5 separate regions of the Homo sapiens genome follow, and regions 1, 3, 4 and 5 are each linked to region 2. Evidence: promoter capture Hi-C in 16 types of primary human blood cells and fetal thymus (Javierre and others, 2016). All regions are on one chromosome and are shown on one strand. Each heading gives the region's core, a stretch centred on a gene start or on the middle of the fragment in contact. The rest is flanking DNA. Distances are from core to core; before and after follow the strand shown. Region 1 has its middle 12 kb from the start of OR56A1. Region 2 holds the start of OR52W1 (olfactory receptor family 52 subfamily W member 1). Region 3 overlaps OR56A4 (olfactory receptor family 56 subfamily A member 4). Region 4 holds the start of LOC107984303 (a long non-coding RNA gene). Region 5 has its middle 28 kb from the start of OR56A1.

The links. Contacts are between HindIII fragments. The CHiCAGO score rates a contact against its expected background, and 5 or more counts as called.
Region 1: a fragment that was not itself captured here is called in contact with the fragment with the promoter of OR52W1 in region 2 in 3 of 17 cell types (M0 macrophages, M2 macrophages and M1 macrophages); the score reaches 5.7 in M0 macrophages.
Region 3: a fragment that was not itself captured here is called in contact with the fragment with the promoter of OR52W1 in region 2 in 1 of 17 cell types (M2 macrophages); the score reaches 5.1 in M2 macrophages.
Region 4: a contact is called between a fragment that was not itself captured here and the fragment with the promoter of OR52W1 in region 2, in 4 of 17 cell types (M1 macrophages, M2 macrophages, M0 macrophages and 1 more). The highest score is 12.0, in M1 macrophages.
Region 5: a fragment that was not itself captured here is called in contact with the fragment with the promoter of OR52W1 in region 2 in 1 of 17 cell types (monocytes); the score reaches 5.8 in monocytes.

What each region holds. Positions count from the first base shown.
Region 1 is chr11:6,039,916-6,046,158 of GRCh38, reverse strand. It overlaps the pseudogene OR56A7P. Among named protein-coding and RNA genes, the nearest start is that of OR56A1, 12 kb to the right of the region's middle. The HindIII fragment of the contact is 313 bases long and covers 3,924-4,236 here.
Region 2 is chr11:6,194,928-6,200,510 of GRCh38, reverse strand. OR52W1 (olfactory receptor family 52 subfamily W member 1) reads right to left here and starts at 1,287. Exons shown (of 1, transcript NM_001005178.1): 1 at 325-1,287. The coding sequence starts at 1,287. The coding sequence ends at 325. RefSeq lists enhancers at 472-972, 973-1,473. The HindIII fragment of the contact is 17,873 bases long and covers 1-2,302 here.
Region 3 is chr11:5,994,926-6,000,820 of GRCh38, reverse strand. It overlaps OR56A4 (olfactory receptor family 56 subfamily A member 4), which reads left to right. Exons shown (of 3, transcript NM_001005179.4): 3 at 1-1,376. It also overlaps a transcript of OR56A3 not described here and the pseudogene KRT18P58. Among named protein-coding and RNA genes, the nearest start is that of OR56A4, 9.1 kb to the left of the region's middle. The HindIII fragment of the contact is 518 bases long and covers 992-1,509 here.
Region 4 is chr11:6,018,655-6,024,497 of GRCh38, reverse strand. It overlaps OR56A1 (olfactory receptor family 56 subfamily A member 1), which reads left to right. Exons shown (of 2, transcript NM_001388488.1): 2 at 1-5,162. LOC107984303 (a long non-coding RNA gene) reads right to left here and starts at 2,498. Exons shown (of 4, transcript XR_001748102.2): 1 at 2,410-2,498. It also overlaps a transcript of OR56A3 not described here. The HindIII fragment of the contact is 1,112 bases long and covers 1,159-2,270 here.
Region 5 is chr11:6,056,556-6,061,921 of GRCh38, reverse strand. It overlaps the pseudogene OR52L2P. Among named protein-coding and RNA genes, the nearest start is that of OR56A1, 28 kb to the right of the region's middle. The HindIII fragment of the contact is 1,243 bases long and covers 2,168-3,410 here.

The sequences.
Region 1 (6,243 bases), core at 2,831-5,330, 160 kb after region 2:
TTAACAGACTCTACCAATTTGTGGCTGGTTGGACCTTCCTGGGCTCGGATTTCATCCTCATCTTCCTCTCCTACACCTTCATTCTAAGAGCTGTGCTTAGATTCAAGGTGGAGGGGGTGGCAGTGAAGGCCCTGAGCACATGTGGCTCCCACTTTATCCTCATCCTCTTCTTCAGCACCTGCTGGTTGTGGTGTTGACAAATGTGGCCAGAAAGAAGGTCCCCATGGACATCCTGATCCTGTTTAATGTCCTTCATCCCTTTAGTCCTCCTGCATTAAACCCTATCATATGTGGATTTCAAACTAAAGAGTTAAAGAAGGAATTTTAGAAGTTGCTGCAGAGGGGCCTTTGAAAACACGGAAGGGACTCTCCATAGAAGCACCTATTACTGTTTCTATTTCAGAAGCTGTGATTCCAGAAAATAAACTAATGCTTAAATACTGAGTATTTCCTACCCATTTCTCTCTCTCCAGTATCAGGAATTAGTGAGGGCTCCTTAGTACCTGACATAAATTCATTTGCCTAGCTCATGTAACTAACATTCTTAGAGATTTAACTTTGTGTTTAGATATTTACATATTTGAACAATCTCATCCTCACAAAAATTCTGCAGGGTAGGATTATTATTCCACTTTATATATTAGAAAACACAAGTTTAGGGAGAAATACTGACAAAGGTCACATCTGATGAGTGGTGGGGCATCAATTCCTCAGACACCATTGAAGCCCTGGTTCTGCTCTGTAGGCCAGGATCTCTCCATCATTTTTATGAATTTGTTGCTGTCAATAGATCTTCTCTAATCACCCTCCACCTTCAGAGTCAAAAAGAACCAAACAGAGGAACAGAACCCAGAGATGTTGCCAATCTTTTTCTGACTGCCCAGGCTTCTGTCACCAAAAGATATTAATCATAGTACTAGTTTATGCCCAGTGGAAGGCTCACAAACCTTGAAATTCTTTATGACAAGACCAGGACACTGAGGATCCAGCTGGCAGAGGTAGGAATGAGAAGACCAGCAGTGTGGGAAGTGGTCAAACTGACTGTGGTGATTTGGGGGCATTCTGTGTACTCAAAACCACACCCCATATGCTTTGGAGCTCAAGAACCAGGAGTGTGGGGAATGTATGTATGGCATATTGTTAAATTTCTGGATGTCATAATCTGGTGAAAATGGGTGAAGAAACAACATATTATTGTAGATGGTAGGCAACGCTGTCATTATTTACATGGGTTATAGAAAACTGAGGTTCAGGCTCATTTAAGAACCTTACCCAAAGGTAAGAGATAATTCTTATTTGCAAAATTCCATAGGCTGAAAGCAAGGGCCACTGTATTAAGAGGTCCTTAAACACCAGTTCTGGTGAGTAGATCCCAAAAGTATTAACTTAAAAGCATTTGAAACATAGGCCAGGCATGGTGGATCATGCCTGTAATCCCAGCACTTTGGGAGGCCGAGGTAGGAGTTCGAGACAAGACTGGCCAACATGGTGAAACCCTGTCTCTACCAAGAATACAAAAATCAGCTGGGTGTGGTGGTGTGCACCTGTAGTCTCAACTACTCAGGAAGCTGAGGCAGGAGAATCACTTGAACCCAGGAGGTGGATGTTGCAATGAGCTGAGATCCCACCACTGCACTCCAGCCTGGGTGACAGAGCAAGACTCCATCTCAAAAAAAGAAAGAAAGAAAGAAAAAATAATGAAAGAAATGTAGAGGGTACTAAATCCTTGTTTTCATCAAATATAATTTTTTTTGTCCTATCAAATATCTTTTGAATTGCAAATTGCAAATATGGAATAAATAGATATATGCTATCTGGCATTAGAGTATAACAATATCTTGGTGAATGGTGGAAAGCAGGGGAGTTGCTTGATTCCTTTAATTGTGAAAGGAATGGAAAAGTGGTTATAAAGTATTTTAAAGCAATTTATTTAAAAGATGAGCAGAGCTTGGTTATCAATTGGATGTGTGGAGTAGATGAGAGGAAGAGAAAGGTGATTACATTTTCAAGTTTGTATGCTGACACTTCTGTGGGTTTTGTCAGCTTCACTCTTTGGTTATTCAAGAAATATTGATATAAGCTTCCCTTTTTTATGGGCTAAGACAGAGATTGGGCTCTCCAGAACCAAACGAAGTCAGAGATAATTCTTATTTGCAAAATTCCATAGGGTGAAAGTAAGGGCCACTATAATTTAATCTCTTGTTTCCATCAAATATGATCTTCTTTGTTCTGTGAAATATCTTTTGAATGTAAAATTGCAAATATTAGATGAACTAAAGCTTTAGCTGGGAAGAGATCTCTGCTAACTGTGGAGATGGATGAGGCTTATGCAGCCAGAAATCCAACCATGAGCCCAGTGAGAAGACAGTTGCCCTTGCTGGCCCTTGCTTTCACTCTATGGAATTTTGACTTGGAGGTTGTGCTTGCTTAGCTTCCTGAGAAAAGGTTTATAGTTACATGGTCTTCCCTAAGACAGTCTCGTTAATTCTGGTCACACATCTGATTGCACACACAAGAAAGAAAGTTTGGGTAGACGTTTTACTTAAAAACATTCAAATGCCATTCTTAATCCTGAAGGTCCTGCATTAGTTGCATTTCACTTGATTTCCCATTTCTGGATGCTGCTGCCCTTTTCCTATGCTAAAATTTATTTTTATCAAATGTTTTAGATACATTTTGGAGTCCCCAAATCATTCTGACCTCAGGTTCCTACAGACGTATATTTTCTTTCACTGTGATGCATAGTCCTTCTAAGATATGAAAGCTTCAGCTGTGAAATAGAACTCTATTTTATTTTATTTTTTTAGACAGAGTTTCGCTCTTGTTGCCCAGGCTGGAATGCAATGGCTGGATCTCAGCCCACCACAACCTCTGCCTCCCAGGTTCAAGAGATTCTCCTGACTCAGCATCCTGAGTAGCTAAGATTACAGGCATACGCCACCATGCCCGGCTAATTTTTGTATTTTTAGTAGAGACGGGGTCTCACCATGTTGACCAGGCTGGTCTAGAACTCCCAACCTCAGGTGGTCCACCCACCTCGGCCTTCTGAAGTGCTGGGATTACAGGCATGAGCCACCGTGCCTGGCCTGATCTCTCTTGACTGTGGAGAAGGATGAGGCTCATGCAGCCGCAAATCCAACCATGAACCCAGTGAGGAGATAAGAGTTAAATTGTGCTTTGATATGCTGGTATAGCATGATTTTATATACTCAAGAGGGACTTTAGCTGGTCAATATGAAGTAACAGGAGCTAGATTACCCTGTCACTTGAAATAACTAAAAGACTGAACAAAATATGTGAAATAATGTTTCTGAAGGCACTGGACATCAGGCAATGGAGGACAGTGATCCCCAAGAGATAGGAAACAAAAAAGGTGAGTCTTGTTTACTGGAAAGTGATTGTTTCAATTCGTTAGGGAGAGATTCCATGCTACGTCAAAGAGAGGGCAAACTCAGCTGCAGCCTGGCAATCTTTCTGTGTCGAGGAGAAGGGGAAGGGAGTCCAAAGAAGCTAGAGTTCACAAGGCAGAGTATTGAGGAAGAGAAAACTCCATAGAAAGAGAATCCTAAAGATTTATAGAAATTCCCCCTTGAGTGTTCAGCAATGTACTGATTAGCATATGCATGTGAGGGAACTTCATGAAGGGCTAAATATCTGAAATAAATTAGATATCTTCTATCAAGGAAGAAATGGAGAGGGGATGATAGTGAGACGGAAATGGGTGTTGAAAAGACAACTAACAGAGTCAAACATATAAGAAAACAACAAAATTCTGCATAATGTTCTGAATAACTTTTATGCCAATGAATTTGAAAAACTAAAAATTTAAAAATCACCAGTAGCTTCAGATAATAAAACTCAAATATATAAATAACCATTAAAAATTTGAAATATTAATTAAAGACCTTTTCCCAACAAAAGCTTCAGTACACTATGGGTTTATAGGTGAGTTCTAAAATTTTAAGAAATAGATCATCTCTATCATGCATGCATTCTTCAAGATAATAGAAAAAGATGGAAAATTTTTACCAACTTATTTTATGAAGCTAGAGTAACCTTGTCTCTAAAACTGGATAATGACAATTCAAACTGTGCAGTGTTTTCACCATGCATTTCATTGCAAGGCAACCCAAAGCCAATCAGTCCATTGTGTAATCAGCCCATTCCCCTGAGAGTCTCACCTCTCAGTAGGAGGTGGGTATGTTTCCATATCTTCCAGGTGGCCAAGGGCAAGCTTCTCTGATCCAGGCATGTAAAGAGCCAAGTATCTCTCCATAACTGCCATTAGCCATCCCTTAAAGTATATTTCCTACCTAGTTATTACACACCAAGGCTAAAAGCTCTCCCATAACACAAAGTAATTTTTGATACCCCCAAAAGTCAAAACTGTCAGGTAATACAATGCAAAACAGAACAGTGTCTTAGATTTTGAGAGGGATCTATTCTCTTTCCATTCTTGGGCTTCTGTGACGAAAACAGAGGTTTTTCCTAGGTTTTTCTGTGGTGCCTCCTCTGCTTTTCCCCAGGAGTCCCAGGCTGTTAGAATTTATCTTAGGTTCTCTCATGTGGGCATCAAGAGTGGGAAGAAGACAAAATGGAGAAAAACAATTCAGTCTACTGAAAAGAAAAAAACTTTCAGAAGAACATGATTCCAGAAGAGGAAAAAGATAAAGCTCTCTTAAATACATTTAACTTGGATATCTGTTTTTAATTAAGCTGATTTTAGCCATAGAGCTATTTTTTTCTAAAAAGAAATTCTTTTAAATCTTTTATTACCAGACTCTAGCTAGAACAGCCAATATTTCTGGCTTTTGAATTCTGCCATAGGTAATTTCCCACATGAAATTAATTAATAAGTTTTAACTAAGGTTAACTTAACTATGGATGCATAAGATATCTCAAAGAGACGGTAAGTAGTTTCTATTTTTACAAGATTTAGAATCTCCCCAAGGGTAGTTCAGGGAAAGGAAAATTCAAGACAGGAAATCAGAGGCTATCCATGGGCGAAAAAACCCTCAATAAATGGCAAAGTTACACAAATAACAAACCAGGAAGGAATGCTTCCGGAAGCCAAGAATTGAACCCTTGCCACAATTGTCAAAAGATAAAGCGTCAGCTACTGAGCTACACAGCATTGAGCAGTTTCTATTGCTCTTTCCAGAAGCCTAGAGCAGCCAATTTCAAGCATGAAAAGGCTTTTAACTGCTCAAGATAATTTTTAGGGCTAACTATAATGTGAACCCCCAAGTTTCTGTCCTCTAGATGGTGGAGACCAAGAGAAAATATCCCCACACAGTCCCAGGGTTAAGCTCTTAAGGACACAAAACAAGACGAAATTTCATTTGGTATTGGTTTCAGGGACACGCAACAAAGTTTGTAGCTGATTAGCCTGCTGGCCTGGCTTGAAAGCAGGGTTATACGGATCTCAAACCCACATTCTATCCTGTGATACCCCTGTCTCCATTACAGAAAGAAAAATTCTTAGCACAACGTGCATCAGATTTGCTACAGCCTAAGACTAGTCTCACAAATCCTTTTTTCTATCAATCAAACTCTTGCAGAGAAGACAAATAGTGACGTTTACCATTTATACACACACACACACACACAGAGTCAGAGAGAGAGAATAGAGAGAGAGAGTCAGAGAGAGATAGAGAGAGAGACACACACACACACACACAGAGGGAGAGAGAGAGAGAGAGAATGAGACGAGAAACTTGGCTGGTAAGAATTTCTTACCCTTTTTGCCAGCATACCAGGTTTCCAGGTTCCCTTTCTCTGTAGCTTCCAGAAGAATGGAGCAGCTTTTGATGACCCTGCTATCTGTGCCATAGCTGTGAGGGTCAAGCCACTTTACAAAAGAAAATTCTGTTTGATGAAGCCATGGAGAAAATATTCTCAATTTTGCAAGATGTTGCCCAATGGGCTACGTGGGGAAATGAATTAACATTTTCAATTCCAGCAAAATACACATAACAAAACAGATACTAGCCACCTCATTCAGCACCCAATATCAGCCTGGCAAAGCTCAAACTTTCTCCTTTTGGTCCCTGTTGTCTTTGATCCACTCCAAGTGAGAAGGGATGACCTCTGAATGGTAACTCACAATGGGTGGTCTCTGGGCAAGGCACAGAGCAAATAGTCACCCTGAGACAGGCCTGTTGAGCTTCCTTTAGGGCTCAACAAATGTGACCAGACCAATAAGGAGGGTTTTCTGAGTTAGGCCTGCTGAACTTCCATCAG
Region 2 (5,583 bases), core at 38-2,537:
TGGGCAGACTTAGGTTGAAATAATGGAGGTGGGGAGCAGGAAAGGGAGTTGTTAGATCTTGTTTATTATGGTCCTTCACTAATTTTTCCTGCATGGTAGTGTAGCCCCCTGACCTCTACCTCCTGCCTCCTCCCAAGCAGAATACATGTTTAAGTCAAAGTCTACAGATGCCAGTGTTGCACATAGGGACTCCACAGCAAGTACCTGTTAAATGATGATAACAGTCATATGCAGTGGGATGAAAATAACATGATCCACACCCCCAGACTCCCCTCCGATTGTCCCCTCACCTCCACTCTTAGGCTCCATTGTTACCACTGGACATTACAACGGGCTTTTTCTGAATGTGAAGGTTTCCAGGAGTCGGTCTCTGATCTGCTTGGTGCGGGCCCCATAGATGAGGGGGTTGAGGGCAGGTGGCAGCAGCAAGTAGATGTTGGAGAGAAGGATGTGCACAGGCTTTGGGACAGTGTGATGACCAAAGCGGTGTGTGAGGTAGGAGAAGAGACCAGGTATGTAGAAGGCCAGAATGACACAGATGTGAGAACTACATGTACCAAAGGCCTTGGCATGGGCCTCCCGGGTAGGTAGCTGCAGCACAGCATGGGCAATGAGTCCATAGGAGCCAGTGATACCCAGAATATCCATACCTGAGATGGCCAGTGAAAGTGCCAGACCATATAAGTTGGTGGCCTGTGTGTTACCCACCACCAGTTCTACCACTGCCATGTGTGCACAATAGGTATGGCCTATGGTCTTGGCTTGGAAGTGCTCAAACTTTGCCACCAGCAGTGGGAAAGGTACAACAATAGCCACAGCTTTCAGTGCCAGGGCCAAGGCTGCATAACCCACACAGGCTTTGGTGACCAGGACAGGGTAGTGCAGTGGACGCCCTATTGCCGCAGCACGATCACAGGCCATGGCCAAAAGCACACCTGATTCCATGGCAGTCAGTGCATGTACAAAGAACATCTGGACCAGGCACACAGCATATGGCACAGATCGGGGCCCAAGCCACAGCACAGCCAGCAACCCTGGGGCTATAGATGTGGCTAAGCCCAGGTCTGTGGCTGCCAGGATGGCCAACAGTAGAAACATGGGCTGGTGCAGTGTGGAGTCTATCCACACCACTGCCGGCAGTGCTCCATTGCCCAGCAGGGCCAGCAGATAAATGGGCCCAAAGACCAGTGTCAGCCAAGTCTGGGCACTTCCTAGCCCTGGAAAGCCAGTCAGTATGAAGAAGTTTGGGTGTAGGAAGGTGGAATTGAGTTGTAGAGTTTCTGCCATTCTGTGGTGGGCACAACTTGAGGGCTCATGGGGGCATGACTCCTGACAGGGAAGATAAGGGGAGAGATTTTGGGGGTCTCACAGTGGCACAAACCCATCCATGGCATACGTGTAGGAGTAGTGCAGGGCTGGGAGGATCACAGGTTTATAACTTTTGGTTAGGGGGGTTTGGATGGATAATTAAGGTCGCAATTCTAGCTAAGATAGGAGAATCCTTTGCTCCTAAAAGTCTATATGTATTGTAGTGGGAGGAAGGGGTAGTGAGGAAGAGGCTGCCTGCTGCAGTGGTTGGTATAGATAGCCTGAGAGAGCCTTCTAATTGGATGTCAGCAGAGGGTGGAGTGGAGATGAATACTTTTCTTCCTCAGGGTCCAAATAGAGTCAGTCTCAGTCTCTATATGAGGAGAAAGCCAGTGCTGGGGGCAGGGTGGGGAATCAGGCTTCCGGCTGTCCTGTCCCTGCCTGTGTATCCTTGGGCAAGATCTCTGGACCTCAGCTTCTTCAGCTGTATAGGCCTGGTGGGTACAGTGATATTAAGGTTTGCCCAGCTCTGAGCAATTGCCCATTCTCAGCACCAACCATCCAGGAAGAGAGGAGGCAGAGTATAAAGAAAGGGAGAAACCGTAGTGGGAGGCAGATGGAATCTGGAGTGAATCTGGGAGCTTGGTGTGGCAAGGGAAAACTTGCTGGGTTTTTGGGGTGCAGGGTGCTTACGTTCTGAACTTGATGCTGAACACCAGCTGGAGAGTTGAAGTTGGGGCTGGGAAGCAACAGAGAGAGAGATGGCAGTACGAAACGGGACTTTTCTTCTCCGTTTCCTTTCCTTCTTCACGGTACAAAAGTGGGTCCCACTAGAGTCTCATTCCTGGCATGCCAGAGCGAGTGGAGGTGACATAGAGGGAGAAAATGGCACTCAACTCAGAGTAGCAGCCATCTGAGGAAGAAGCATCTCTGACATTGGAGGAGGCAGGACAAGTAGATTGACTTAGGTGGGATCCAGCCCACCTAAGAAGCTTAATACATGTTGAATGGATAAATGAATGAGGAAGAAATCACCAGCAGAAGGCTTGACTGGGAAAGATCTCGAGCACTGTGTGTTGGCAGCTTCTCTTCGCTTTAATCAGTGCCTGTGGGGCTCTTTATGTGGCTGTTCTACCTGCTTCCCTCAGGGCCTTTCTCCCTCCCACCTGTGCCACATTAACTCTGTTTTGTATCTCTTTGCTCAGTGCTGATGGGCTGGTGACTCAGGAAGTAGAGTAAGGAGGCAGAGATGGGGGCAAGCCAGGAAAGAGACTATCAGGTGGAAAGATCTGGGCAAGGAACACTTTCTCAGGGAGGTCTTTGCTGGCTCACTGAAGTCCGGGAGAAAATTCCTTGGTTTATTCTTTAATAGCATCTAGCCCACTCTGTTGTAATTTCTTGTCTCTCAATTCCCCACGAGACAAAAAGAGTTGCAGATATTGCTTTTTATTAGCTACAGTGTCTCTACTGCTTACCACAATGTCTGGCATGTAGTTAGCTATGAATAAATATATATTGCTTTTAAGTGTGGGACAGACTGCTAGTCCAAACAGCTTTTGCTGACTAATAGGGGCTCCTACAGTTTCAGGAGCTTTAGATATCCATGAAGAAAAAGAATTATTCACCATCAACCACAAGTCTACTGAATACAGTTCTTTCTATTATAAGGAGACTTAAACTCACCACACTATGTAAAGTCATACAATAAAGACCACAGGGCCTATTGGAAAAATGAAGTTAGGGGCACAACACTCAAAAACTTCATCAGTGACACATTTGAAAAAAAGATGGGCTGGGCACAGTGTCTCACACCTGTAATCCCAGCACTTTGGGAGGCCAAGACAGGAAGATCACTTGAGCCCAGGAGTTGGAGACCAGTCCGTGCAACACAGTGAGAGCCCATCTCTACAAAAAAATTAAAAAAATTAGCCAGCCACAGTGGTGTGCACTGGTACTTCTACCTACTCGAGAGGCCGAGGCAGGAGGATCACTTGATCCCAGGAGTTCAAGGCTACAGTGAGCTATAATCATGCCATGCACTCCAGCCTGGGTGATAGAGTAAGACCCTGTCTCTAAAAAATAAATCCAATAAAATGAAATTGGGCAGAAAGTTGTAATACCAGATGTGAATGGGTGTGGCTCATAACGCAAGTGGTGAACTGAAGTAGCTGATCGATGTTTGAGGTGTGTGCATGTGTGCATGTTGAGCTTTCTTACTCAGCTCAGTTCAGCTGGGTTCAGTTTTCTGGGTTCACCTACTTTCTTGGAAGTGGAGTTACATGCAAGCAAACACGAAATTCACATTATTCTCAGTCCCCTAATACATATGTCAATTGTCTTTGAATAATTTGTATTTTAAAACTAGCATTATAGCAGAACTAGTTGAATCTCTTTTCTGCCTGGCCTTGTGTCATGTGGTGAGAATACAGTGGCAATAACAAGACCCTGCTGCTCTCAAGGAGTTCACAGTCTAATGGACACAGTGATCTAAACAGTTGTCGAAGGGTTGTTAAAGTAATTGCCTTAACTCAAGTCAATACCAGATACGATGGCAGCACAGAGAAAGAAGACTTTCACTCTTGCTGGGGGAGTCAGGGAAATGTCTGAATCATAGTAGTGGTTAAAAGTCTTGTGGGGTTTCCTGTGTACGTGCACTGCTCTAAGCCTTGACCTCACAACAGTCATTTGAGGTGGGCACAATTCTTTCTTCCATTTTACAAAAGAAACTAAGAGACAGACGTTAACTTGGGGAAGGTCATATAGCTAGTAAATAGCAGAGTTAGGATACTAACTCTGTCTGGCTCTAGCATACTTGCTGTTAGCCACTACCTCAAAAATTGTAGCTGAGGTTTAGAACATGAGTTTTTAGAATAGGTGGAGCAAAATGCACCCATTCCTGGGAGAAGGAGTTCAGGAGATTTTGGGATTGGCAGGTGATCCTAGGATTGCTGAATGGAGAGATGTACAAAGAGCTGTAATTATGTGGCAGTAAATGGTGAGCTGTCATCAGTTCAGGGAGGAGAGGAGTACTGAGCAGGTGGGAGCAGTCGGTTAAGAGCCATGAAGGAGAGGGTTAGGAAAAAGTGCTCTTGTCTTCAAGAGAACACTAATGGAACTTTTGACTGCCTTGGACACTTGCTCTTTGTGCAAAGATTGTTTGTAAGGTAAATTACAGAATCCATAAGCCCAAAAAGTCCAAATTTGAAGTCATTGGGTTCTTGGAAATCTACTGTGTTATGCATTTCCCATTCTCCAGTAATCCAAGATACACTGGGAGATATCATAGACTTCGTCTTTAGAAGGTTCCTTGGTTAGTCTCCCAAGCTCCAGTTCATACTTATAGAAGCTATCTAAGCACATCTTGGGAACCAACTGGCTGGTCTTTTCCTGTGACGTTGACCATTAGAGGAGGGGATCTGACACCTGTGATCTGGGGGCTATATACCAGAGCCTGCTCCCCAGAGCAGGGTGTCAGCTCTCTGTGAGGAGTTGGGTGGGGTAGGGAGAGGGGAGGCTTGTTGGATTTCTTAGTTGCTGTTAGACTGACAAGAAAAATAGGATAGGAGGGTTCTGTCTGGAGACTGACTCTGATTTTCTCACATTTTTGGCTAGTGCAGCTACCACCAACATCTATAGAATAGGGTTCTTAGATAACAGCTGGCTCCATGTGGGCCTGTTCTATTGTTTTCCGCTTAAAATGATCCATGAGCAAGAACACATATGAGTAGCTTATTACTTTACATGATAGATTACAGATCAGAAATCTTGGGTCCTCGCGGTGTTGTACAGCACTAAATCCTCTTCTGGAAACCTACTAAAGCAAACTCAATTGTCAAATCCCAATTCCTGGGTCAGTATGAGATCCTTTTGTGACTAATGGTAGCATAGTAGCCCAGGCCTCCTTCACTCAGTTTCAGGAGAGGTAGAGAGACCCTGTAAGATCAGGTTTGCCCTACCCTATGGAGATGTGGAAGGAGTCGTGGAACCACTATGCCCATTCTTCTAGTATTAGTTTTACTCCTCTACTTCATGCTTCCCAGCCCTTCCATGAGCAGGTCCTTAGTATTCCATAAAGCTCTGGAGCACTGGGCATCCCCAGTTCCTAGGAGGATAGTAGATGTGCTTGCATTGAGGTTGTAGATTTGAGAAGGGAATTGTTCTCCCTCTCCATCACAGTAGGATCTTCCAGAAGTCAGATTATGGTAGGGGTATGGAATAGATCACATCTAGTTTTTAATTAAACCTCTTTCGATCTTGTCTACTCTCCTTATCCAT
Region 3 (5,895 bases), core at 1-2,500, 200 kb after region 2:
CTAACATACTTTCGACTTATCTTAAACTTTGTTTTCTCTGCCACTGTAGCCAAAATGAGCTGCTCATTATTTCTTGAAAATTACTTATTCCCATTTTGCTCTCTCTCTTCAATCATTTGATGCTTCTCACATCAGCCTTCTTTTACCATTATCACCATTTGCCAAACCCCATCTTTCCTACCAGGTTTTTTTATTTTTTATTTTTTTATTATGTTTTAAGTTTTAGAGTACATGTGCACAATGTGCAGGTTTGTTACATATGTATACATGTGCCATGTTGGCGTGCTGCACCCATTAACTCGTCATTTAACATTAGGTATATCTCCTAATGCTATCCCTCCCCACTCCCCCTAACCCACAACAGTCCCCGGTGTGTGATGTTCCCCTTCCTGTGTCCATGTGTTCTCATTGTTCAACTCCCACCTATGAGTGAGAAAATGCGGTGTTTGGTTTTTTGTCCTTGCGATAGTTTGCTGAGAATGATGGTTTCCAGCTTCATCCATGTCCCTACCAAGGACATGAACTCATCATTTTTTATGGCTGCATAGTATTCCATGGTGTAGATGTGCCACATTTTCTTAATCCAGTCTACCATTGTTGGACATTTGGCTTGGTTCCAAGTCTTTGCTATTGTGAATGGTGCCGCAATAAACATACATGTGCATGTGTCTTTATAGCAGCATGATTTATAATCCTTTGGGTATGTACCCAGTAATGGGATGGCTGGGTCAAATGGTATTTCTAGTTCTAGATCCCTGAGGAATCTCCACACTGACTTCCACAATGGTTGAACTAGTTTACAGTGCCACCAACAGTGTAAAAGTGTTCCTATTTCTCCACATCCTCTCCAGCACCTGTTGTTTCCTTCCTACCAGGTTGAATTCAAATGCCATCTCCCACAGTAGGTCTTCCTTCCCTGATCCTCCCGACTGGAATCATTATTCTTGCATCTTGTGTGGCTGTATTTCTTTCTCTGACACTGTCATAAGCTTCTTTTAGGTTGAGAGTATTTTATTCATCTTTAAAATTCTGCATGGCTACTTTTACTGTCTCTTATACATACAGATAAATTTAAAATAAAAATGTGTTGAACAAAATCTGTAGAACATTTTATAAGTGATCTCTCATCTCTCATTTTCTTTAATAACTACTTGGAAACAACAATAAAATCTTATACTATTATATGTCCTTATAGTACCTAACAGAGAGCCATATTTTTAGCCAGCACAAAATGAACCTTTATATAGTGAAGACCATTAGGATTGAGACAGTCTGGAGAACTGGAATTTTATTCTCAGATAAAATAATTTGGCTAAATTTGTGTACTCCGCTTTTGTGAACTTTGGTTAAACTCATAAATTCTGGCTTAATTACCTTGAAAATGGTGTTAATTTATTTTTTATTGTTTTTTCAAAGAGTGAATTAATAAAAGTTTTTGTACAGTAAGTATATACACATTAAATTATATACACATTGAATGATTTATCATTATTATTATTTCCCCAAGCTTGCTGCTTCCCCTGCTGCCCTCTGAATAATAGGCTGACCGTTATTGCACACCTTATTTACCTTGGGGCATTAAGGTATCCATGGAATTTGAGTCCTCCTCTTTCCCTCTAGTTATTTTTGTCACTAGTTTATTTTCTTGAGAAGTTCTCTTGCTTATGTGAGGGTTATCATGTAGGAACTCCAAACTATTGGGTGCCCCATAAGACCTTTAGTTGAACATAGCCTATTTATATCCATTTCAGTCTGGGTGCACCACGAGGCTCTCCACAAGCATCCCTTCGGAAACACGTAGGGACAGCCATTGAAGATATGTGGCTATAATACCACTCCAGTGCTCACATTCTTTAAGGCTACCAGGCTTCCAATGCCACTTGCCCCTCCAAATTGTACCAACAATCCCATCTTGTATGTTTGAGAGAGCATGACACAATAATCATAAAATAGGAAACTGTTTTCACCATGTCCAAGCAGCTGTCTTGGTAAATTATCTTCGTAATTCATGACCACACAGTGTGCAGAGGCTTGACTGCTTTGCAATCCCTGCTCAAAGCAGTGTTAAGAATCCTCACTCTCAGTTTACCTATAAAATAGCAAATGAAACAGAGTCCATAAATGCTGTCTTACATATTTTCTCCAGAGTGTCCTATTGGGTTCTTATTTTAGTCCAACTTTTCTTCTTGGGGTAGAATAACTTCTGCAACTTCTCTCAAAATCAGGTGTCACTTGGCACTTCACCTGAGAAAAACTGGTCGGTTATTACTCGCTGCTTCTGAAATATTTTCAATAGAAAAGAGTGATAGTCCCTTCCCTTGGTGTTATCACTTTTGTCTGCCGCTCTCCCTTCTATCATAATTTCCCCTTTTTTTGCTTTATTATCCTTCCTAATTTAGACTCTTTCTAAGTGAGGGCCTCTGATTCAGGCACACAGACAATACATAAATCAGACTCTAGCAGGAGTCTCCCTGGGATCTTTTCTTTTCTCTAGGAAGAGGTGGTAGGGTTGGAAGGGTAACAGGTAGTGTGTAATGAAACCATCTCTATCCTCAGGCATTATTTATGGTCAGTCATAGCTTGGCCAGAGGAGGTGAGCTGATACCCAACCCAAGGTTTCCTTTGGAAGACAGAGAGAGAAGTTCAAAGTGACATAGGTAAAATCTCACCCAGTTATGCACCATTGTCTGCAACACAATTGTCATCCCACCATCTCATTCTTGGAGCCCAGACTTGTGAGGTGAGACAGAGGATTGTGTCTCAGCATCCTCTCCAGTTTCCTCACTCCTATTGCTGGTACCGAGAGGCTTTCCAAGGCATTTTTCCTTCACTGTCACACACATTTGGACAAATCTTATACCTGTCCAGTGAGTGAGTTGGATTTTCATGCTCTTATCATTAATAACAAATATTCCACTTGCCCATTCCAATTTTGAAGCCATTGTGATGTAGGTAATAGGGAAATGATATGTCTGTAATATGTTAGGCTTTATAGCCCATTTTTGTATACTGGCTATAATAAAATGACCCCGGTTTATGGATACTGTGTAATTCTCATTTAAACATAATTTTCCTAAGAGTATACCTAAAGTCTGAAATGAAGCTCTCTCTCTCCTAAGTCTAGAAATATTTGTTTTTCAAGTATATAAGATTTTAATTTTTATTTGTAATGCCTCAAGTCTCCGTGATGTTTCCTCAATTTTCTTCCTGTTAATCACTATCCCAATATTGGATTTTATCTTCTGTGTTTTCTACCCATGCCTCCCTGAAGAATAGGCCTATGCTCTAGGTTCAGATGCCTAAAATAGCCTTAGCCCTGGTGGGCTGTGGGGAGGGAAGTGGCAGAGTGGAGCTTAGGACAGGAAAATAGCTTCTGGAACCTCAGAGGGGGTAGGTCTGATGGTGCATTAAACAGTCACAAATAGCAATTACAGTACAGCATCCTTGAGCTGCTAGGTCTGCTTTGGAACTAGGAAAATAATGAGCATGAGAGTCATGTAGGGACCCAGGTGTTCCATATAAGCAGGAAGCATTCATTCTTCTGGTAGAAATGCAGCAAGTCTGGGGTTGAAGATTCAGATTCTGCCAATATTGCCAATATCCCAAAATCTGCTGTAGCCCTGCTTTCCCATGGGGGCAAAGTTTTTTAATGTGAGCTGTACACTACCCATTTAAACAGAACTGAGATTTCCAGAGTGAAGGTTCTTGAATTCGTTCATTCTTGTCTATGACAGCTGTAGACCAGGAGACTCAGTGAGTTTATGTTATCAACTATAATTCACCCCTCCTAGAGAAGATTGCCATGGAAGCATCAGAAAAGATAGGGCCATTAATCTCAGCTACCTTGATTTCTCCCTCCTGGGCTTCCCATCTCATCCTGCCTTGCTCTCAGTGCTCTTTCCTGCTTCTCTGTCTGGGACAGAAAACCTTTTCCATTGCTCAAGCGACTATACTCCTCAGAAAATTTCAGACTGGGCATGGGGTTAATTTTTATCTTTTGTTCATTGCCCCAGCAAAAAGAATATAATAACCAACTGGAAACAAAGCCAATGTCTCTAGAGAAATAGACTTATTTCTTTGGAATCTGGCCACAAATAAGTTTGTATAGTCTGACTATTTGGATGTATATCTGAAGCTGTAGTTGTTTCTAATTCCAATTCTACCTTTCGTCATCCTTTGTTAACAACATCTAGTTGTAGTTTCCAAATACATCTTATGTGAAAGAACGGTGCTCTTATTACCACATTTGGAGGAATCTAGAAATTTTGGAGTTCTTTACTGAATAGCCACATTGGTTCTAAAAAAAAAAAAAAACTTCACTGGTTTAAGGTAGGAGTAGAGGAAGAGTAATATCTACCCTAAGACAAAGAGGCTGGGCTACAGGTTACTGGAAAGTCCTAATGCCTGGTAGAGATTCTGTGAGGAGCTAAGCTGGGAACTTTGGATGTGTTGATTATCTCTGTTCTTAATGAGGTCTTCCCATTATGAAATCTGAAAGACCAGTCTACTAAGAAATCTCTGAAGGATTTTTGTTGCTATACTATTCAGCCACAAAATATTTGGTACATGTAATATATACACACACATATATATACACACATACATATATGTGTATATATTACATGTACCAAATTTTCTTTCCCCATTCATCTGTTGATAACATTAGGTTGACTCCATATGTTGCTATTGCAAATAGTGCCGCAATAAACATGGGAGTATAGACATCCCTTTGACATACTGATTTAATAGGGAAACAAAATCCTGTCATGTGCTATAGTATGGATGAGCCTGGAGGACACTATATTAAGTGAAATATTAAGACAAAAAGACAAATACCACATGATCTCACTCAAATGAAGAATATGAAAAAGTTTTCTATAAAGTCTTTGAGAGTAGAATGGTGGTTACCAGAGTCTGGTAGGTGGGAGGGAGGGATTGAGAGATGTTGGTCAAAAGATAAATAATTACAGTTAGATTAGAGGAGGCTGTTCAAGAGATCTATTGCACAGCGTGGTGACTATAGTTAATGATGACATATTGTATTCTTGAAAAATGAAAAGATAGTGAACGTTTGGTGGTGTTCTCACCACAAAAATGATAGTTATGTGAGGTAGTGTATATGCTAATTAGCTAGATTTAACTATTCCACATTGTATATATACTTTAAAACATGTTGTACACAATAAACACATGAAATTTAATCTGTCAATTAAAAACATACTAAAAGAAATCTTTAAAGGAACCTTGATGGGTAGTATTGAAAAAGACAATGAAAACTGTAATTTTGAGCTGACCCAGAAATCGAACCAAACTAAACAAGTTCCTGTATCCTGTCCAACTCAAGAGTCATGGTGCCATGTGACCATCACCAAGATTAAATTTATATCCTAAGGAAAATAAAAGGAGGTGTGTTTAGTTTCCCATAACTCTAGACCTCTGCTGTTCAACACAGTAGTTAAGAGCCATATGAACCCTTGAGATGTGGCCAGTCCAAATTGCAACACGCTATAAGTGTAAAGTGCACATCTGATTTTGAAGATTTAGTGCAAAAAGAATGAATAATACAAAATAGCTCTTCCACACTTTAAAATATTGGTTACATGTTAAAGTGGTCGTCAGCTAAGTCTGAGTCCTGTTCTCTCACTCTCCTACCTGCACAGCAGGAGTTTCACCACTCACTCCACCTTCTCCACCAACTACCGGTCCCTGGGCTGCGTCCAGCCGCCCAGCTATGGCACCCGGCCAGTCAGCAGTGCGGCCAGCGTCTATGCAGGCGCCGGGGCCTCAGGTTCCCGGATCTCCATGTTCTGGTCCACCAGCTTCCAGGTGGCTTGGGGTCCGGGCGCCTGGCTGCAGGGATGGCCGGGGGTCTGGCAGGAATGGGAGGCATCCAGA
Region 4 (5,843 bases), core at 465-2,964, 180 kb after region 2:
TCTTTCCAGGAGTGCTTTCCCTGCATCTGCCATGATTTCACCCGGAAGCAAGCCCAGAATGAACTCAAAGAGGAGTCTATGTTATTTGGCCAAAACTCAGATCTTAATTCCCGAACCAGACTTCTGTAGATCAATGCAAATGGCCAACACAATTATGAGATGCTTGACTCAAACTGGGTGTACATAGGGATAGAAACTACCAACTTTGTTGTAGGGATTTGTAAAGGATGGAGGGACCAAGACAGCAGTGGGACAACAGTGATCACCCCTCACAGTAACTAGCACAGCTCTCACATATTGAGGGGCTCAGTAAACATTTCCTTACTTATGATATTGAATTGGCTAAAAGAAGAGTTGAAAAATCATGTCTATCTTTAATCTCTAGTTCCCCAGTAGTAGAGTCCTAAACGTAACAAATGGATAAACCACATACTTGAAAAGTTGGCTCTCTGCTCTGGTTCTAAGTATAGAGGTTTAGAGGACCACAGATTTCTCACAAAATTGTCAAGCTCACTGCAAGTGGTAAAATAACTGGTCTCAAGGGTCCTAGATAGGCTTTGAAGTAAATCCTCATACAGATGATAAAGGAGCAAGATAACCAAAGAATCAGACCATGAAGGGCAGACCCAACTCTGCTGTGAAGTTCCCATAGCAAAATGTTAAAACATGTCCTCTCTGTAAAGGTTTTCAAGCACTGTCTTGAGTGGATATAATGAAGTAGTATAAATTAAAGGCATTTTAAATGGATGGGGTACCAATGTTTTGTCAGTTTTTCAAAACTGAGGAAGTCTATGAAGATTTGCTTTGCTGATACAACCTGAATATGTTCCAACTGCATTGGAAGAGGGTGCATTCAGAACATGAGAAGAGAGACAGGAGTAGCTTTCCAAAGGTCACTCCCCTCACTCCCTGGTTTGCAGGTTAGTCATATTTGTGTGAGGAACACAGCCTCTTGAGCAGGAAGATCTGATATCATTGCACATTGCTATTCAATACCATAGCTGACTTAAATCAAGGCCAGTGGAAAGAAAGAATAGCAAGTCCTCTGGAATTAAGGTGGAAAAAGAAGGGACCCTATGTTGGTAGCCAAAGCTCAAAACAAACACCTAAGTATTGTTGAGGGAACAATACTACACTTTCCATTTATCACAGAAAGCTTTTTAGTGCCTAGCCATCCTGATACTTTATTATGCTTTGGTGTATATTCTAGGCAGTGAGAGTTCTGAGACATCAGAGAAAGTTTATAGCATCAAGACTGCAACTGTAGAACTTAAACAGCAACGTCTGAAGTTAAGCAAACTCTTCATAGTTGGCAAGTCAACATTGCCCCTTTGTGGCTATTTGTGGGAATAACGGTACTGTATTGAATGCCAGTTCTCAGTCTCAGGTGTTTGAAAGAGAACGTGACAAGTCCGTTTAGAAAACTCCTGTACTTCCTGCTCATAGGGCACATAGGGACTTGAGTGATTAATTTAACAAATAAAAGAGACATACCAATTTATACCATGATTTTCTTTTCTTCAGCAACATTTAAAAGTCAATACCAAATCACTGACATGAGTCAGGTATTCATAAGAATAGTGAATATCCTTAGTGTTTCATAACATATTACACTATCAGCATTTGGCTGAGTACTGTATATAATAACAACATTTCTGCACCTATTCAACCAAAAATTAGTTATTGAGTTCTTTACGTGTGATTAGCACTCTGAACATACAGGAAAACTAAGTTTTAGAGAGATTATGGTCAAAATAGCCCATGAATTATAATTCCCATTTTTGCAGATGAGGCAACTGAGCAAAATGATAAATTATACATAGTCATTTAATCAATAGGGACCAGAGTTAAAATTGAGAAGTAAGGCATTTTGCTACATAAACCCATTTTTGCTTCTTCAGAGTCTAGGGATTGAGGTATATTTTTAATCTTTCACTGGATAGCTTTGTAGTTTCCTAAGTTTTTCATACTCCAGATTATAGATATCAAAGGCAGAGTACACTAAAAACCCACACGCATTGAATTAGTCAATGCAATTAAAGTTAGCTACTGTAACAATGATAGCACAGTGGCCTAACACAATAAAATTTACTTCTCACCCACACCTCATTCCAATGCATGAGGGCTTTGCTCCACATCAACATTTAGGGACCCATGCTTTTTTTATTATGTGGATCCTCCATGTTCTGGGCTCTTAGAGACCTTCACTGGTGCTTCTGAATCTGGGTGGCAAGCCAGAAAGAGAAAGAATATGCAGGATTTTGTAAGCTTTAGGGCCCCAAACTAGGAGACACATCACTTTCTCTATCATTTCATCGGCCAGACTCCTCACATAGATCCAGCTGCTTGCAAAAGAGCCTTGATCATAAATTTTCATTTCTCTTTTTCCTACATAGACAATAGGCTTACCTCCTTATCAAGGGAGACCACCCAAGCTCTCATCTGATTACTCTATGCAGCAAAAAATCCAAGACCTACAGATGTGTGTGGCCTTCTCCATCAGATCCCATTGTGATTTCTCTTTCACCAGTGATATTCTGTCTCTCTATTAATGGCGGAGCAGATGATTTCCAACTGGAAATGAAGTGTAGAATTCAGTTAGCAGTAACTTAATAGTAATGCGAGAATGCTTTAGGAGCAGATATTGCAATATTTTTACTTACTGAGAGGGGGACAAGTTTCTTGACTAGACATTGTTTGCGTTCTCTAGGAGGAACTCTCCTGATCATTGTTTTCAATGTCCTGATCATTGCTTTTTATTGTTTTTTTAATGCCATCTGCCTTTGGGGGTTTGTGCCTTTATTAATGTTCCCATTATCCTAAATGTGCCTTTATTAATGTTCCCATTATCCTAAATGAAGCAGGCATCGAACAATGTGACTTCTTTTGGAGTGACACTGCATTTGAACCTACTTTCTACTTATAAAATATTAGTATCAGTACTTTAAATAATTTTTTATTTAATTATTCATTTTAAAATTGATACATAATAATTATACATATTTATGAAGTTACATACAACGTGTAGTGAGCAGATCAGGGTAATTAGCATATCCATCATCTCAAACATTTATCATTACTTTGTGTTGGGTATATTCAATATTCTTTCTTCTAGCTATTTGAAAATATACAATATATTGTTGACTATTATCATCCTTTAGTTCTGTAAAACACTAGTACTTGTTTCTCCTTTCTAATTGTAATTTGTGTAGGATCAATACATTTTTTAAATTCTAAAGCAAAAACTTTCTTCAAAAGTCAAGTTCATGTTTCTTTGGCAATAAACCCCCTCGAAGGCCTAATAGGTTTTTGATCTATCTGTATCAGGTCAGTTCAATGTGCTAGTGATCACACTCAAAGGATTTTCTTAGGCATAATTTCCATTACTTTTCTTTTCTATATTGTCTTCTCCCTTTCTCCATGCCACTCTTTTTCTACTTAATGATGTTTATTTTAAGGCTGTCAGACTTGAGAAGGACTGCTATACACATCATCTAACTTTTTCTCAGGCTGGATTTCTGTGAGTCTTCTTTACTCAAAGAAATTCTAAAATTTTCTCTTAACTTTTGACCTCCAAAATGGGCAAAAGATGGAAGCATTCCCCTATAAAACTGGCACAAGGCAAAGATGCCTTCTCTCACCACTTCTGTTCAACATAGTATTAGAAGTCCTAGCCAGAGCAATCAGGCAAGAGAAAGAAATAAAGGCCATCCAAATAAGAAGACATGAAGTCAAACTGTCTCTGTTTGCAGATGACATGATTCTATATATAGAAAACCCCACAGTCTAGGCCCAAAACCTCCTCCAGCTGATAAACGTTAGTAAAGTTGCAGGATACAAAATTAATGTACAAAAATCACTAGCATTCCTACATAACAACAACAGCCAAACTGAGATTCAAATTAGAAAGGCAATCCCATTCACAGCTGCCACACAAAAAATAAAATACCAAGGAATACAGCTACTCAGGGAGGTGAAAGATCTCTACAGTGAGAATTACCAAACACTGCTCAAAGAAATCAGAGGAGATACAAACTAATGGACAGACATCCCGTGCTCATGGATAGGAAGAATCAGTACCATTAAAATCACTACACTGCCCAAAAGCAATTTACAGATTCAATGCTATTCCAGTCAAACTACCAATGACATTCTTTACAGAACTAGAAAAAACTATTTTAAAATTCATATGAAACCAAAAAAGAGCCTGAATAGCCAAAGAAATTCAGTTCCTAGTTTAGGACTGTTCAAACATATACTTGAAATCTGCCTTGACATTCTGCTATGATTATGTTAAGATCCTGGTATTTGATTGGAAACAATGTATTTTCTGCTTAGCTTTTGAGTTTATGCAGAATTCTTGTGGTCTGTCAAGAGATGCCGTTGTTAGTATGTGGTGGGGGAGGAGAGATACCTGAGTCAATACTCTTGGAAAAAATAAACCTTGATACATTTTCTGAAAAAGTCACTAGAGCTCTTACATTTACCAGGATGCTTATAATAGAATTAAGACTGTGTCCTATTTAAGAAAGAGGTTGAGAGACTTTCCTTAAACCTATGCTTATCCCTGGAAAAGTAAATGCTGGTTTGCCTGTGGATAGAGCCAAGAGAGGGATCAAGGTCTCATTTTTACTTGAATTCACAGAGTGACTGACGAATTGAATACTGTGCCTAAATGCTTTTGAGAAAAAGCCTTCTGACATTCACTTTTGGCTTAATGAGAACTTGAATTTTAAGTTTAGAAGTCAGGTTTAGTATCTTAGTTATGCTGTTGCCTGACATATTGTCTTTTTAAATTGGAAAGACAATTGGGAGGCAATTTAATTATGGGGGTGGGTCTTTCCTGCACCCATAATTCTCATGATAGTGAATGAATCTCATAAGATCTGATGGTTTAAAAAAACTAGAGTTTCCCTGCACAAGCTCCTCTCTTTTCCTCCCACCACCCATGCAAGATGTAAGTTGCTCCTTCTTGTCTTCTGCCATGATTGTGAGGCTTCCCCAGCCATGTGGAACTGTAAGTCCAATTAAACCTATTTCTTTTGTAAATTGCCCAGTTTCAGATAAGTCTTTATCAGCAGCATGAGAAAACGGACTAATACATGATGTATCACATTTATTGATTTGCATGCGTTGAACCATTTTTGCATTCCTGGGATAAATCCCACTTGGTTATGATGTATTATCTTTTTGATGGGTTGGTGGATTTGATTTGCTAGTATTTTGCAGAGGATTTTTATATCTATGTTCATCAAGAATATTGGCTTGTAGTTTTTTTTTTCTGTCGTGTTGTTGTTTTTGGTGTCAAGGTAGTAGTAGCCTTGAGGAATGAGTTAGGAATAATTCCCTCCTCTTTAATTTTTTGGAGTAGTTTTAGAAGAATTGGTGTTATTTCTTCTTTACAAATTTGGTAGTATAAGGCAGTAAAACTTTGTGTCCCTGTGCTTTTTTTTGTTGGCAGGCTTTTTATTACTGATTCAATCTCATTACTCACTAGTGGTATTTTCAGGTTTTCTATTTCTTCCTTGTTCAATCTCATTAGGTTGTATATGTCCAGGAATTTGTCCATTTCCTCTAGGTTTTCTAGTTTGTTAGTATATAGTTCCCAATAGTCACTGATAATATTTTGTATTTCTATGGTATCAGTTGTAATATCTTCTTTTTTGTTTCTGATTTTATTTGCATCTTCTCTCTTTTTCTTTTGATTAGTCTAGCTAGAGGTTTATCAATTTTGTTTATCTTTTCCAAAAATCAAATTTTCACTTTATTTTTTGTCTTTTTGAGGCTTTTTAAAGTTCTATTCTGATTTTTATTGTTTTCTTTTACAAATTTTGGATTTTGCA
Region 5 (5,366 bases), core at 1,540-4,039, 140 kb after region 2:
GTCTCCGATTTGTGCAGTGAAGCTCTGCCTCTTAGTGCTTGATTTCTGTATCTTCCTCTCTTATTAGGTCATTATCATGGACCCACTATTTCTGTGTCCTCCACTGCTCTTTTTCTGCCTAGGTTCTTGTCTCCTTTCCTCCCGACTATCATAGAGTCCAGATCACTGCTGAGAAAGAGATTAAAGAGAGAGAGAGACAAGTCACATCCCATAGAGGCCTCCCTGCCTGCTAGGAGCAGAAGTGACTACCAGTGACCACAGGAATCCCCTTATTTCTGACACATCTAGGATTTCTTTATCACTTCTTTGCATGCGAGATAGTGATGAATCAGCAGGGATCTTTCTGCCATGAAGCACCCAGAGCATCACTTAAGGTGAGGACTGTCAACACTCAATCAGTAATCCCCTCAGACGGCAACCCAGTGTCTGCTACTTTATTCCTTTACTTAAATTCAGTCTCTGCCTTATCAAATTTTCATAATCTTCAGCCTTTTAAGACACTCATACACTTATTTATTTATTATTTAATCTAATCATATGGATATTTATTCAACCAACATTACTGATTACCGACTGGATTCTAGGTGCTTCTGGAGCTTGCCCTGGGGCTGCTGCAATAAGCAAGGCATAGTCCCTGCTTTTTAAAGTGCAAGGTCATCAATGCAATGACAAAGTGGTAAAGACATCACAAAGGGAAAGAAAAGGAGACACATTATGCTGTCTTACAGAATTCAAGCACAACTTCACAGAAGATAGGTTGCTTAGATTGAATGTAGATGAATAAGTAGTAGTTCAACAGCATCAGCTCTTCGCTAATTGTCCCCTGCTTTCTGGTTGGAGAACTAAATAGAGCTTCACTTTTAGGTTCTTGGGAATAAAGTCCCTTCTGCTTTTCTTCTAAGAATCACAGAGGGATCTCCTATTTACTTTAATAATTAGTGCTTAATAAGCAGATGTAGGCTTTTGCTCTAGTCTCACAAGCCATGCAGCATAAAAAAGAAGCAGATTATATTCAGGTTCGTGTCTCTGCCCCTCTGCTTCACCTTCTGTAGTACGGTTTCAGTCTCACTGCTTTATGCACACTGTTTCTATTAAAGCCACGGGTGCCTTCCACAAACACATACCTGTTCTTCAACTTCTCAGCTATAAAATGAGAAATGAGCTGATGGTTGTAACAGAAGGGGAGTAGCTAAGAAAGAGAATTAACTTCCTCAGTATGTGGAATATTAAGCACTGAAAGGTGATTTTTTTTTTTTTTTTTGCAAGAGTATAAGATTCCCCTGGAAGTCTCAATAAAAATGTCATCATTATTTTAAGTTGACTCTTGAAGAAAGACAAAGGCTGGGAGACATATGCCCACCTAGAATTTCAGAACTTATAGTTGTTATATTGAGAGTTTGGGGGCAATATGATAGTTCCCAAACATTATTGATTTGTAAAAAAGACACACTGAGTGATCTATAGATGCATAATCCACAAGAACTGAGTCATTCTTGACTTTTAAAAATCTTCACATGTACATGTACACGAACCACCACCCCAACAAAGAAAAATATAGTTGTTTCAGACTACATCTGTCTTTTAAGATAAACATACAGACACAAATGTAACCAGTTGCAAGTTTCTTATTTTAATACTTGAGGGGTGAATCCCATGGAGAAGGTTAAACAGACAGCTGTTTATTCAATAGTTCATGTTAACGTGGGGTGTCAGAGACACTGAATTGCTATAACATCATGATGACAGGTAAACATATCAAAAGTTTGAATCAGAGAAGCAGAGTCATGAAGACAAAGAAGAAAGGAAAGGTAATTATAGTTATCTTTTTAAACATTAATAATATTGCTATTAATATTTGCCATTACTTTCAACGGCAAAAATCACAATTACTTTTGTACCAACTTAATAAAAGATGACTAAGAGCTCATAGCCATCTTTTATTAGTAACATTAAAAAAGAACTATAATTTATAGACTATACTTTATAAGGTAACCTATATATCAAGACTTTACATACATTAGTTAAAATTTTTAGTATTTAAGATTAATATTATTTATTCTAATATGAAATAAGGAAATTAAGACTTAGAGAGTTTTAGAAGCCTAGCAAGATTTTATTCCTAGAATATGAAATGGACAGAATTTTAACAAACTTTGCCCGCAAAGCTTGTATTTATCACACTGCATTGTGAAGCATCCATGCTAGCTTATAATCATGACATGTAATGAGATACAGTTCTTTAAAACAAGCCATTAAGATGCTGACAGGATTTCTATGATGGAGATAAGCAAGAAAGTTATGGATGAACAAAGAAGGATCATAACATACAGTGCTCGTGACATAATCACTCTTGACCTAACACAGCCAATGAGTCCTTTTGAGCAGCAGAAGAGAGTAGACTCTAAATTTTCAAGAGTGAGGAAGACCAATTCAGATAAAGGAAGTGGAAGAAAGACTACACAAAAGGCATATGTAAAATAGGAGAGTTTAGTCATATAACTCCAAGAATGTTGGAATGGTTTAGTAAAACATACATGTAGAAATATGTTAACTGTAAGACCAAAGTAATACACAATAGATAACCCTTGAAAACCTTTAATGCAGTCTTAAGAGTATGATTTTATTCCATGCAATAGATTCACTGAAGGATTTTAGCCATAGGCACGACATAACGACATCTGCATTTTAGGAAAAACCTGACTTTAAGGTTGAGAGTGAATTGGGAAGATGTTTACAGCAAAGGCAGAGAGATGTAATGAAACAGTACAGGTGAGAGAAGTTGGATGTTTGACATCGGGGGTTGAAAACAGGAGTGGATATAACAGCTATGTGTTAAAAATGCAGTTAACAGGAATTGGCGAATGGGGAAAAGGGATGAGAGATAAGAATAAGTAAAGATAGTTTCCGAGTTTCTAGATTGGGTTTGGTAGATGGATAGTAATGTAATTCATAAAAATATTGCCAAAGGTAGGTAGGACAGATTTAAGAAGGATAGATGAATTAATTTAGTTTTGAATATGTTGAGGCTATAGTATAGCTATTCAGGAAGCAAATGGAAAGAATGATTTGTGTTTCAGAAAGATATTTGACTTAGAAACACAGATTTGAAAGAAATAAAAGTAGATAGATAAAACTATGAAAGTGGATGAGGTCAATTCAGAGATAATGTACTGAATAGGGAAAAGAGGAGAGGATGGATCCCTGGAATCAACAACATAATGAGATGGAGAAAATGGTGGGACTGAGGCTATAGGAGAAACAACTCTAGAGTGCCACTTCACGGAAACTGAGGGAGGCTAATTTCAAAAACAACAGTTTAATTTACTGTGTTCAGTAACGCCAAGAGGCTAATAAAGAGAACCCTTTGAAGTTGGCAGCTTCAAAACATAAGCAACTGAATGGTTAAAGCTTATGCATCTCTCCCAAAACAGTGTATGTTTACTCTTATCTCTAAAAAAACTAGACCTATTCTAATTCAGACATGTGGATGTCTCACCTGTAAAAAAATTTATCTCCACCAAAGATTTTCTTTCTTGTATCTAACTTTATTCCCTTTGGTTGCAGTTTTAGTCACTTTATTCTTCTCATGAAGATGGTAGACAATGTGATCTGGACTATGTGATAATGTACCAGAAATGCAGAAATCATGAATTTGGATTCTTTTTTCTCTTTCCTCCTCAAGTCATTGATAATGGCGCTTAGCAATTCCAGCTGGAGGCTACCCCAGCCTTCTTTTTTCCTGGTAGGAATTCCGGGTTTAGAGGAAAGCCAGCACTGGATCGCACTGCCCCTGGGCATCCTTTACCTCCTTGCTCTAGTGGGCAATGTTACCATTCTCTTCATCATCTGGATGGACCCATCCTTGCACCAACCTATGTACCTCTTCCTGTCCATGCTAGCTGCCATCGACCTGGTTGTGGCCTCCTCCACTGCACCCAAAGCCCTTGCAGTGCTCCTGGTTCGTGCCCAAGAGATTGGTTACACTGTCTGCCTGATCCAGATGTTCTTCACCCATGCATTCTCCTCCATGGAGTCAGGGGTACTTGTGGCCATGGCTCTGGATCGCTATGTAGCCATTTGTCACCCCTTGCACCATTCCACGATCCTGCATCCAGGGGTCATAGGGCACATCGGAATGGTGGTGCTGGTGCGGGGATTACTACTCCTCATCCCCTTCCTCATTCTGTTGCGAAAACTTATCTTCTGCCAAGCCACCATCATAGGCCATGCCTATTGTGAACATATGGCTGTTGTGAAACTTGCCTGCTCAGAAACCACAGTCAATCGAGCTTATGGGCTGACTGTGGCCTTGCTTGTGGTTGGGCTGGATGTCCTGGCCATTGGTGTTTCCTATGCCCACATTCTCCAGGCAGTGCTGAAGGTACCAGGAAATGAGGCCCGACTTAAGGCGTTTAGCACATGTGGCTCTCATGTTTGTGTCATCCTGGTCTTCTATATCCCGGGAATGTTCTCCTTCCTCACTCACCGCTTTGGTCATCATGTACCCCATCACGTCCATGTTCTTCTGGCCATACTGTATCGCCTTGTGCCACCTGCACTCAATCCTCTTGTCTATGGGGTGAAGACCCAGAAGATCCACCAGTGAGTGCTCAGGGTGTTTACACTAAAGGATTGACCTGAATATATTCTCACTGTTTCCTTCAGAGGCACCTGCCAGGACATAGCCAGGAACTCATGGCTGGTGCAGATTATATGGATGGGGTAATTTTCACAGCGAGCAGTCCTTCTAGTGTCACATATCACAGCAAAGAATATCCAGAGGCACCTGGCTTCACAGCTTATTGGGATGTATCTGGATACCTGAATTTGTGAATAGTTTTTCCATTCTTTCTTTTGCTCCTGATTCCAACATTTTCCTACTCCTGTGTCAGAGAGACTTGAGGACAGTAGAAATGGATGACAGCTCTGGATGTGTCATCTTTCCTGCCATTGCCCAGTGATAGACTATGCAACATTCTCTGGAATGGCAATGGGAAGTCCCACCCTCAGCTTGGTTTTAGGTTTAGAGTGTCTTCCAAACCTCTAAGTTTGTGCTGGCAGCACATTTACATGGTACAGCCATTCAGCTAAATGCTAGTGTTAACCCTTTAGATGAACCTTTTCGTGTCTTTTAGGATGACTTAGATTCCTTTACTTTTCTGCCACATCAAAATGCATAAATTAGGACATTTCTAAAATATTTATTATGCATATTATAAATGACTTTTTTCTTGCATTTACTCTTTTCTTTAAGGGATGAGTTTCTCCGCTTGTTCAGCCTGGTCCTTTCTTCACGATACTAGTTTTTTCTCAATTATTTGTAGATTTTTACTCTTATTTGTTTGTAGATGAGAATTAAATGGTTG